2 separate regions of the Homo sapiens genome follow, and region 1 is linked to region 2. Evidence: promoter capture Hi-C in 16 types of primary human blood cells and fetal thymus (Javierre and others, 2016). All regions are on one chromosome and are shown on one strand. The core of a region is centred on a gene start or on the middle of the fragment in contact, and the rest is flanking DNA. Distances in the headings are between cores, read along the strand shown.

Region 1 (4,102 bases), core at 1,213-3,712, 290 kb after region 2:
GGCTCAAGCAGTCCTCCCACCTCAGCCTCCCAAGTAGCTGGGACTACAGACATGTGCCGCTATGCCTGGCTGACTTTTTTTTTTTTAAAGTAGAGACAGAGTTCGCTATGTCGCCCAGGCTATTCTTGAACTCCTGAACTCATGCAGTTCTCCTGCCTTGGCCTCCCAAACTGCTGGGATTACAGGTGTGAGCCACTACCCACAGTGCAGCTAGTTGTCCCTATTGTTAACATCCTACATTAGTGTGGTGCATTTGTCACCACTAATGGACCAATATTGATATTTACTATTTACCAAATGTCATAACTTTATTCATATTGAGATGCTTGTTTTTTATTATAGTATGAGATAAACACTAACTTAATTTTGTTCCCAAATGGTCAACTTGAATAATACTGAAATTGTGTTTTCTGAAATTTTACAATTTTTGGTGAAAGTTGAGTCTTTTGATTATTCTTCCTTTTTTGAACACATTTTGGCCAGCATAATTGTGTAAAAGGGGGCTATTAAGCCATTTTCTAACAGTATATGATAATATTTTTAGAGAATAGACAAAATTGATGTTTACGTTAAATTTGGTTTTATATTAACAGAAAGCATTTTCATCCACATGCCTGGGGTCACATATGGGTGACAAAGCCAGGATTAGAACCCTAACTGAGCATTTCCATGCCAGTAGATTCTTAGGAAAAACCTTAATGATTACCTTTTTTTTTTTTTTTAATTATTTTTTGAGATGAAGTCTTGCTCTGTCACACAGGCTAGAGTGCAGTGGCATGATCTCGGCTCACTGCAACCTCCACCTCCCGGGTTCAAGCGATTCTCCTGCCTCAGCCTCCTAAGTAGCTGGGATTACAGGCATGTGTCACCACACCCAGCTAATTTTTGTATTTTTAGTAGACATGGGGTTTTGCCACGTTGGCCAGGCTGGTCTCAAACTCCTGACCTCAGGTGATCCACCCGCCTCAGCCTCCCAAAGTGCTGGGGTTACAGGTGTAAGCCACCGTGCCCGGCCAATGATTACCTTTTTAAAAACTGGACTTTAAGGCTGAGCACAGTGGCTGACACTTGTAATCCCAGCACTTTGGGAGACCAAGGTGCGTAGATCAGTTGAGGTCAGGAGTTTGAGACCATCCTGGCCAACATGGTGAAACCCTGTCTCTACTGAAAATACAAAAATTAGCTGGGCCTGGTGGCGCATGCCTGTAGTCCCAGCTACTCTGGAGGCTGAGGTGGGAAATCACCTGAACCTGGGAGGTGGAGGTTGCAGTGAGCCGAGATGTGCCACTGCACTTCAGGCTGGGTGACAAAGTGAGACTCTGTCTCTAAAAACAAAAACTGGACTTCAGGTGCACAGAAATAGATTAATTCAATTCTTAGTTTATGACATTATCACCTTTAGTCCATGCATAGCATTCCTGGTACATTTATTGTTTCATAATGAACACCTGCAGATCTACCATCCCACCTAATAATTACAATACATTACTAAGTTACATTATACATTTTTTACTCTCTCATCTACTTGCTTCTACCTGCCCCCAGAGGTAGCCTATCTAGAATTTTGAGTTTATTATAATTTGCTTTTTAAGTTTTTACCTGCATACATGTATAACTTAGCAACATGATTTTGTTTTGGGTGTTTTTTAACTTTGTAGAAGGTGTACCTGCATGTAGTGTCTTGGCATTTGCCTTTTTACGCAGAGTTAGGTTATAGATTAATACATGTTGATGGAGTTGAAGTCCATCTGATGTCGCCATTGTCTGGTCCTCTATTTTATCACATTTCACAGCAGTTTATCCAGTTTCCTTTTAATGGGGTTTTGGATTATTAAGACCATTACAACTGCCATGAACATTTTTATTTTTTATTTATTTATTTTTAAGATAGTGTCTTGCTCTGTTGCCTGGGCTGGAATGTAGTGGCATGATCTTGGCTCACTGTAACCTCCGCCTCCCGGGTTCAAGCAATTTTCCCACTTCAGCCTCCCAAGTAGCTGGGATTATAGGCGTATGCCACCACACCTGGCTAATTTTTGTATTTTTAGTAGAGACAGGGTTTTGCCATGTTGGCCAGGCTGGTCTCAAACTCCTGACCTCAAGTGATCCACCTGCCTTGGCCTCCCAAAGTTCTGGGATTACAGGTGTGAGTGTAATCCCGTGAATCCCGCCTGGCCCCATGAACATTTTTAAATCACCTATACTTGTGAACATTTCTCTTGGCTATGTACCTAAGAGTGGAACTTCTGGGATGCAGCGTTTGTGAGTGTACATTTCTTTCTTTTCTTTTCTTTTTTTTTTTGAGACAGGGTCTCGCTCTGTCACCCAGGCTGGAGTGCAGTGGTGCGATCTCGGCTCACTGCGAGCTCCACCTCCCGGGTTGACGCCATTCTCCTGCCTCAGCCTCCTGAGTAGCTGGGACTACAGGTGCCCGCCACCACACCCAGCTAATTTTTTGTATTTTTAGTCTAGACGGGGTTTCGCCATGTTAGCCAGGATGGTCTCGATCTCCTGACCTCATGATCCGCCCGCCTCAGCCTCCCAAAGTGCTGGGATTACAGGCGTGAGCCACCGTGCCTGGCCTGTGAGTGTACATTTCTATAAGACAATGTCAAATTATTTTTCATATATAATCTAAACCAGCAACTCTTGGTGGTGTTAGACTTTATAATATTTTCCAGTCAAACGTGTAAAAGTGTATCAGTGTTGTCTTGGTTTATATTTCTTCTGAACATGTCATGTTTATTGGCCTAATGTGTTTTCTCTTCTACTTTTTACCTTTTGGCAATTGCTGAGGTGGCAAAACTCAACCAGTTTCTCTGATACTCTTGATTTTTATAAGAGTTTTTATGGGGTAAAGGTCAACTTTTTATGAGGCATAGTCCTGAGGAAGTATAGTCTATTGCGTGATCATTAGTGTCCTTTTCACAAATGACTAACCCTTTATAGATATGACAAGCCAAAGTGCCTTCTCTCCTTTAGGGAAAGATGTGTTCCTTCCCTTTTCCATTGTGTTGATGGTATGATAGAGGTCCTTCTCAGGGCTGAGAATCAACTAATGTTTCCACTGTGATAAAAGTAGGTACCCTCAGCTGTTCTCATGCCGAGTGAACCTTCTCACCGTTTTTCTAGGTTATTTTATGACACCTGGACCAGAAAACCAGGCACTGTCAGGTTTGAGCATCACTGTAGGCAAAAGAGACCCTTAACTTGTAGGTCTTTACGAGGTACAGTGGTCTGCAACATAGAAGAGAATTGTGTCTACGTCAGTAGTTCTCAAACTTTTGCAGGCAACAGAATCACCTGGAGGGCTCATTGAAACAGCCCACTCACTCCCACCCTGGAGTTTATGATGTGTGCGCTAGGCCTGGCTGGGGCCTAGGTCGGTAATATTAATGTAGCTGGTCTGGAGACCATATTTCGAGAACCACTATTTTATAGATTCAAGCTGCAACCATTAAACTGTAAGCAAGTTATCATTACATCATGGCATACTTGGAAAATGGTGACTTAGTACAAAATACTGGAGTAAACTGAGGGGGATCTGGAACTGCAGATGATTGGCTCACAGGCTGGGCGACCAAAGACATCCTGGCACACCTGTTGAAAAACTCTGGCATGAGGTACAGGTATATTTAACAGTCTTCACAGGGATTTTTGTTTAAGTAAGGGGCCTTGAATGAGATCATTGGTAAGCCTCACTGAGTACAAGGTTTTTCTACCTCATCCCCTTCCAGAGCTCTAATAACTTATTGACTCTCAGGGAATTTCAGAATTTACCTTTGGTGGTGTCAACCTAAAGATTGACACAATTATAAATTTAGAAAGGATCTCCAGCTGTGAAAGAAAAAAGTAGAAAGGAGACTATTTATTATAAAGGGTTACAACCTGTAAGGTGGCCATCCTTGACAGTCTTGGAAGCGTAGCTTCTGGCAGACACTGAAAGGCACTTAGAAGGAGATGGAGTTGGGACAAGAGCTTAATGCTGAACAGGTTGGCCATACATTCCTATTCAACAGGTTATAGGAGGAGCTATGAATATCCGTGAATGGGGTCCTGATGCATGCGTAATGAACAAACATTCGTGTTACATACATCCCAT
Region 2 (4,600 bases), core at 217-2,716:
ACAAATACCAGCACTTTGGGAGGCCGAGGAGGGTGGATCACCTGAGGTCAGGAGATTGAGACCAGCCTGGCCAACAAGGTGAAACCCCGTCTCTACTAAAAATACAAAAATTAGCTGGGTGTGGTGGAGCAGGCCAGTAATCCCAGCTAATCGGGAAGCTGAGGCAGGAGAATCGCTTGAACCCAGGAGGCAGAGGTTGCAGTGAGCTCAGATCGGGCCAGCGTACTCCAGCCTGAGCAACAGAGTGAGACTGTCTCAAAAACAAACAAACAAACAAAGGCAGGGGGAGGGGGGCACATTTCCATGTTGACAGCTGCTCTGGCTCAGAAACTTTTAATTATCCACTAGTAGAGCCATCTGGATTACTGCAATAGTTCTCTAATAGGCCTTCTTTCTTTTTCTTGTCCCTCAAAATCTATAATATAGTCTCCCAACAGCAAGAGTGAACCTTTTAAAAGTGAGTCAGGTCATATCACTTGTCTGCTCCAATCCCTCCAGTGGGTTTTCAGTGATGACTTTCTTGTACCACCCTATTTAAAACCTCCATCCCTGCCCCTGCCCTGATTTGTTATCCTTTATCTGCTTTATTATCTCTATAGCACTTATCACCTATGTATCATAACACATATTTGACTTGTTTTTTTATCTCCTCCCATTGGAAGGCAGGGATCTTTGCTCCCTGCTATCTCAGATTCTACAATGGTGCTTGGCACATAGATAACACTCAATATCAGCATCCTAAGAGAGAGAAAAATGAAAAAGGAAAAGCACTCAATATGTTTTTGAATAAATGAATTAGTGTGTTTGTTATGACAATTTATGATAATCAAGGGGTTGGGTACTCATTACTGCTAAGTTAATTGAGCACTGTCTCAATTAATTGAGTTAATGTCTAAGCTTTCTGCATGTTTCATTTAATACCCACAATCTCCTGTGATGTAGTTCATTATTTTTTCCATTTTACCGAGTAGAAAACTGAGGACTAGAAGCTGATTCCCACAGCACGTTTCAGTTGAGTTGGATTTTGTTTTCCTGGGCCTGCTTCTTCATAAAGGGACTGGACTAAGAATACTCTTGACCAGCCCGTAAGAACTTGGCACTCGTCTCAGTAATCTGAGATAGCAGGGTTTGGCGTCCATAGCAACCACGGCGACAGGACGCGCTCGAGCAAGAACCAAAAAGCGAGAACAGGTACAAGGCCAAACTTTCTACATTCACAGACACCTACCAAACCCCGAACATGGAACACCAAATTAGAACGCTGACCAGTTCCTGGTAATGTAGAAAACACCCAAGTTAAAACGGCAACAGAGTGACACAGCAGCCATTGAAGATGCCCCACTTCAGGCACCGACAGGCGTCACGTGACGGGTGGGGAACGCCAACCGCCTGGGCCTAGCGCAGCTTCCTCCGCCCACCACGGAAGTGAGGCGGGGATACTAAAGCGACGGAGCCCGGTGGACGGAAGTGGGTGTTGGAGGCTTTAAGGTAGCTTTAAATTCGTGTTGTCCTGGGAGCTCGCCCTTTTCGGCTGGAGTCGGGCTTTACGGCGCCGGATGGCTCTGGACGTGAAGTCTCGGGCAAAGCGTTATGAGAAGCTGGACTTCCTTGGGGAGGGACAGGTGAGGCTCTCTGGAAGGACGGGGAGGGCCCCAAGCGGACAGCCCCGCGCCGCCTCCACCTTTGCGGGTTTTCCCGTGGAGGCCAGAGGTCTGGCTTGGCTGCTCGTTCTCGTTGGGGGAAACCGTCCAGACGCACTTGCTGCCCATTCTTTACATCCTGGGGGTGAATCCCTGAGGGGCCTCTCCTTGCTGAAGAGTAGCCTGGAGCTGGACGGAGACTGACCCGCCACGTTTCCAGCCGCCGCGAGTCTGCTCAGGAACTCTGGGCTCTTTGCTTCGCGAAATGTAAAAATGCAAAAAGGCAAACACAAAAACTCCCATAAACTTATGTTATTTCTATTTTTCTTTCTAGTTTGCCACCGTTTACAAGGCCAGAGATAAGAACACCAACCAAATTGTCGCCATTAAGAAAGTGAGTTACCTTTTTATGTTGTTTTTAAGTCTCCTTGAAGATGTCTGTATTATTAATTGACTGATAGCCATTTTATTAGTCTTGACCATACTCTGATAATGAGTTACTCATGTCATTTTCAGAGACAAAATAATTAATTAGTGCTTTGTGTTCCCAAACGGAACTCTAGGGTTGAACCCGTTTTAATTTCTATTGAAATGAAGAAGAAGCTGTATGTTATTTTTACTGCATAAATTCATATGTTGTGGGCAAGTACTGCCCATCTTTTCGGTCCTCAGAACTATTGGATACCATGATCTTTCTAGGTCACTGTTTATACCTCACCTGCATCCACTCAGTGTGTCGTATCTGTATTTTCTGTGTACGGATTTACCATGAAAGACTTTCACTAGCATGAACAACATTGATGTGAGGTCTAAAATGAGTTCAGTAGCTTCTTATATTCATTCAAAAGACCTGGGTCGGATTCAGTAGCTTCTTATATTCATTCAAAAGACTTGGGTCGGGCCAGCCGCGGTGGCTCACGCCTGTAATCCCAGCACTTTGGGAGGCCGAGGTGGGCGGATCACTTGGGGTCAAGAGATCCAGACCATCCTGGCCAACATGGTGAAACCCTGTCTCTACTAAAAATACAAATATTAGCTGGGTGTGGTGGCACCTGTCTGTAATCCCAGCTACTCGGGAGGCTGAGGCAGGAGAATCACTTGAACCTGGGAGGTGGAGGTTGTAATGAGCCGAGATGGTGCCACTGTGCTCCAGCCTGGTGACAGAGGGAGACTCCATCTTAAAAAAAAAAAAAAAAAGATTTGGGTCATAATTACATAACTCACGTTCACCTACATTGTTTCTTTTAACCTTCAAAACAATCTATAAAGTGGTTAAAAGTAACCCTATTTTATACTTGAGGTACCTGAGACTGAGTGACTAGGTGACTTGTCAAGATCACACAGCTAGTGATTGCTGAAGCTGGGATTTAAATCCAGGTGTCCTGATGTTGCTTTTGTTACCGTTGCTACTTTGAATCTGCTTCTCCTGCTTCAAAAACCCTAACTCCTTGGAAGTTATCCATATTTAACATTAATTCCCCCTTTTTTTGGTCATCTTCCAGCCTCCAAGTACTGTCTTGCATTCATTTAAAACCTGACTGACTACTTCTTCTCAATTATTCCTGCCATAATTTTTTTATTTTTTATTTTATTTTATTTTTTATTTTTTTTGAGACAGAATTTTGCTTGTTGCCCAGGCTGGAGTGCAATTGTGCGATTTCGGCTCACTGGAACCTCTGCCTCCCGGGTTCAAGCACTTCTCCTGTCTCAGCCTCTCCAGTAGCTGGGACTACAGGAACCTGCCACCACGCCCAGCTAATATTTGTATTTTTAGTAGAGACAGGGTTTCGCCATGTCGGCCAGGCTGGTCTCGAACTCCTGACCTCAGTTGATCCACCCACTTCGGCCTCCCAAAATGCTGGGATTACAGGTGTGAGCCACTGTGCCTGGCCTTCTTTTTTTTTTTTTTTTTTTTTTTTTAACTTTTTTACTTTTTTTATGTCCGTGTTTTCTGGTTTATGTTTTATGATCCACCACTACAGCCACTCCCTTTAAAACCCTTAACTCTACTGAATCTTTCTTCATCTTTCTTTCTTTTGTGGTGGCGGGGCAGGAGGAGGTCTCACTCTGTCGCCCAGGTGGAAGGGTTAGAGTGCAGTGGCACAGCCATAGCTCACTGCAGCCACCAACTCCTGGACTAAAGTAATCCTTCCACCCCAGCCTCCAAGGTAGCTGGGACTATAGACACATGCCACCAAGCCTGGCCTAGTCATCTTTTTAATTCTGTCTCTGGTTCACTATATCATAGCCACACTGACTTTTCTGTCCCTGTACAAATTAAATTTATTCCAGTCCCAGAATCACAGGATCATTGCATTTGGTCTGGCTTCTTGGTTGGTATATTTTCCGTCTAGAACATGGCATGGCTGATTCCTTATCATCCAGGCTTCACTCAAATGTCTCCTCCATAGAGGCCTTTGTTCATTCCAGCTACATGTATGCCTCCCTCCTTCCCTATGCTTTGCTATATTTCTGTCATCGATGTGGCATTTGTCGAAATTTGAAATCCTCCTATCTATGAGTTTATTGTCTGTTTAATTCCATTCACACTGTACCTAGGGCCATGGCTAGTACATTTGTAGACACTGTTAAAAATGTATTGGCCTTTCAGCTGGGCGCGGTGGCTCATGTTTGTAATACCAGCACTTTGGGAGCTCGAGGCAGGCGGATCACCTGAGGTCAGGAGTTCAAGACCAGCCTGGTCAACATGGCGAAACCCCTGTCTCTACTAAAATACAAAAATTAGCCAGGCATGGTGCCCCTGCTAGTCTCCTGGCCTCAAGTGATTGTCCTTGCCTAGGCCTCCCTAATTGCTGGGATTACACGTGTGAGTCACTATGCCTGGCCTATTTCTTGAGGTGTTTTTTCTCCCCCAGTTTTAGACGTTGTCTATACTTTCTACTATGAACATTGAGGATTTGGTGTTGTAGACCTTATTCCAACACTCATAATTTCTACTC

Evidence for each region. The method cuts DNA at HindIII sites, captures the fragments that hold promoters and counts their contacts. A CHiCAGO score of 5 or more calls a contact.
Region 1: a fragment that was not itself captured here is called in contact with the fragment with the promoter of CDK7 in region 2 in 1 of 17 cell types (neutrophils); the score reaches 5.7 in neutrophils.

What each region holds. Positions count from the first base shown.
Region 1 is chr5:69,522,821-69,526,922 of GRCh38, forward strand. The region is part of intron 4 of OCLN (occludin); the gene reads left to right. Among named protein-coding and RNA genes, the nearest start is that of SNORD13B-1, 14 kb to the right of the region's middle. The HindIII fragment of the contact is 5,716 bases long and covers 1-4,102 here.
Region 2 is chr5:69,233,420-69,238,019 of GRCh38, forward strand. CDK7 (cyclin dependent kinase 7) reads left to right here and starts at 1,467. Exons shown (of 12, transcript NM_001799.4): 1 at 1,467-1,622; 2 at 1,975-2,034. The coding sequence starts at 1,557. RefSeq lists enhancers at 1,189-1,717, 3,429-3,929. The HindIII fragment of the contact is 18,686 bases long and covers 896-4,600 here.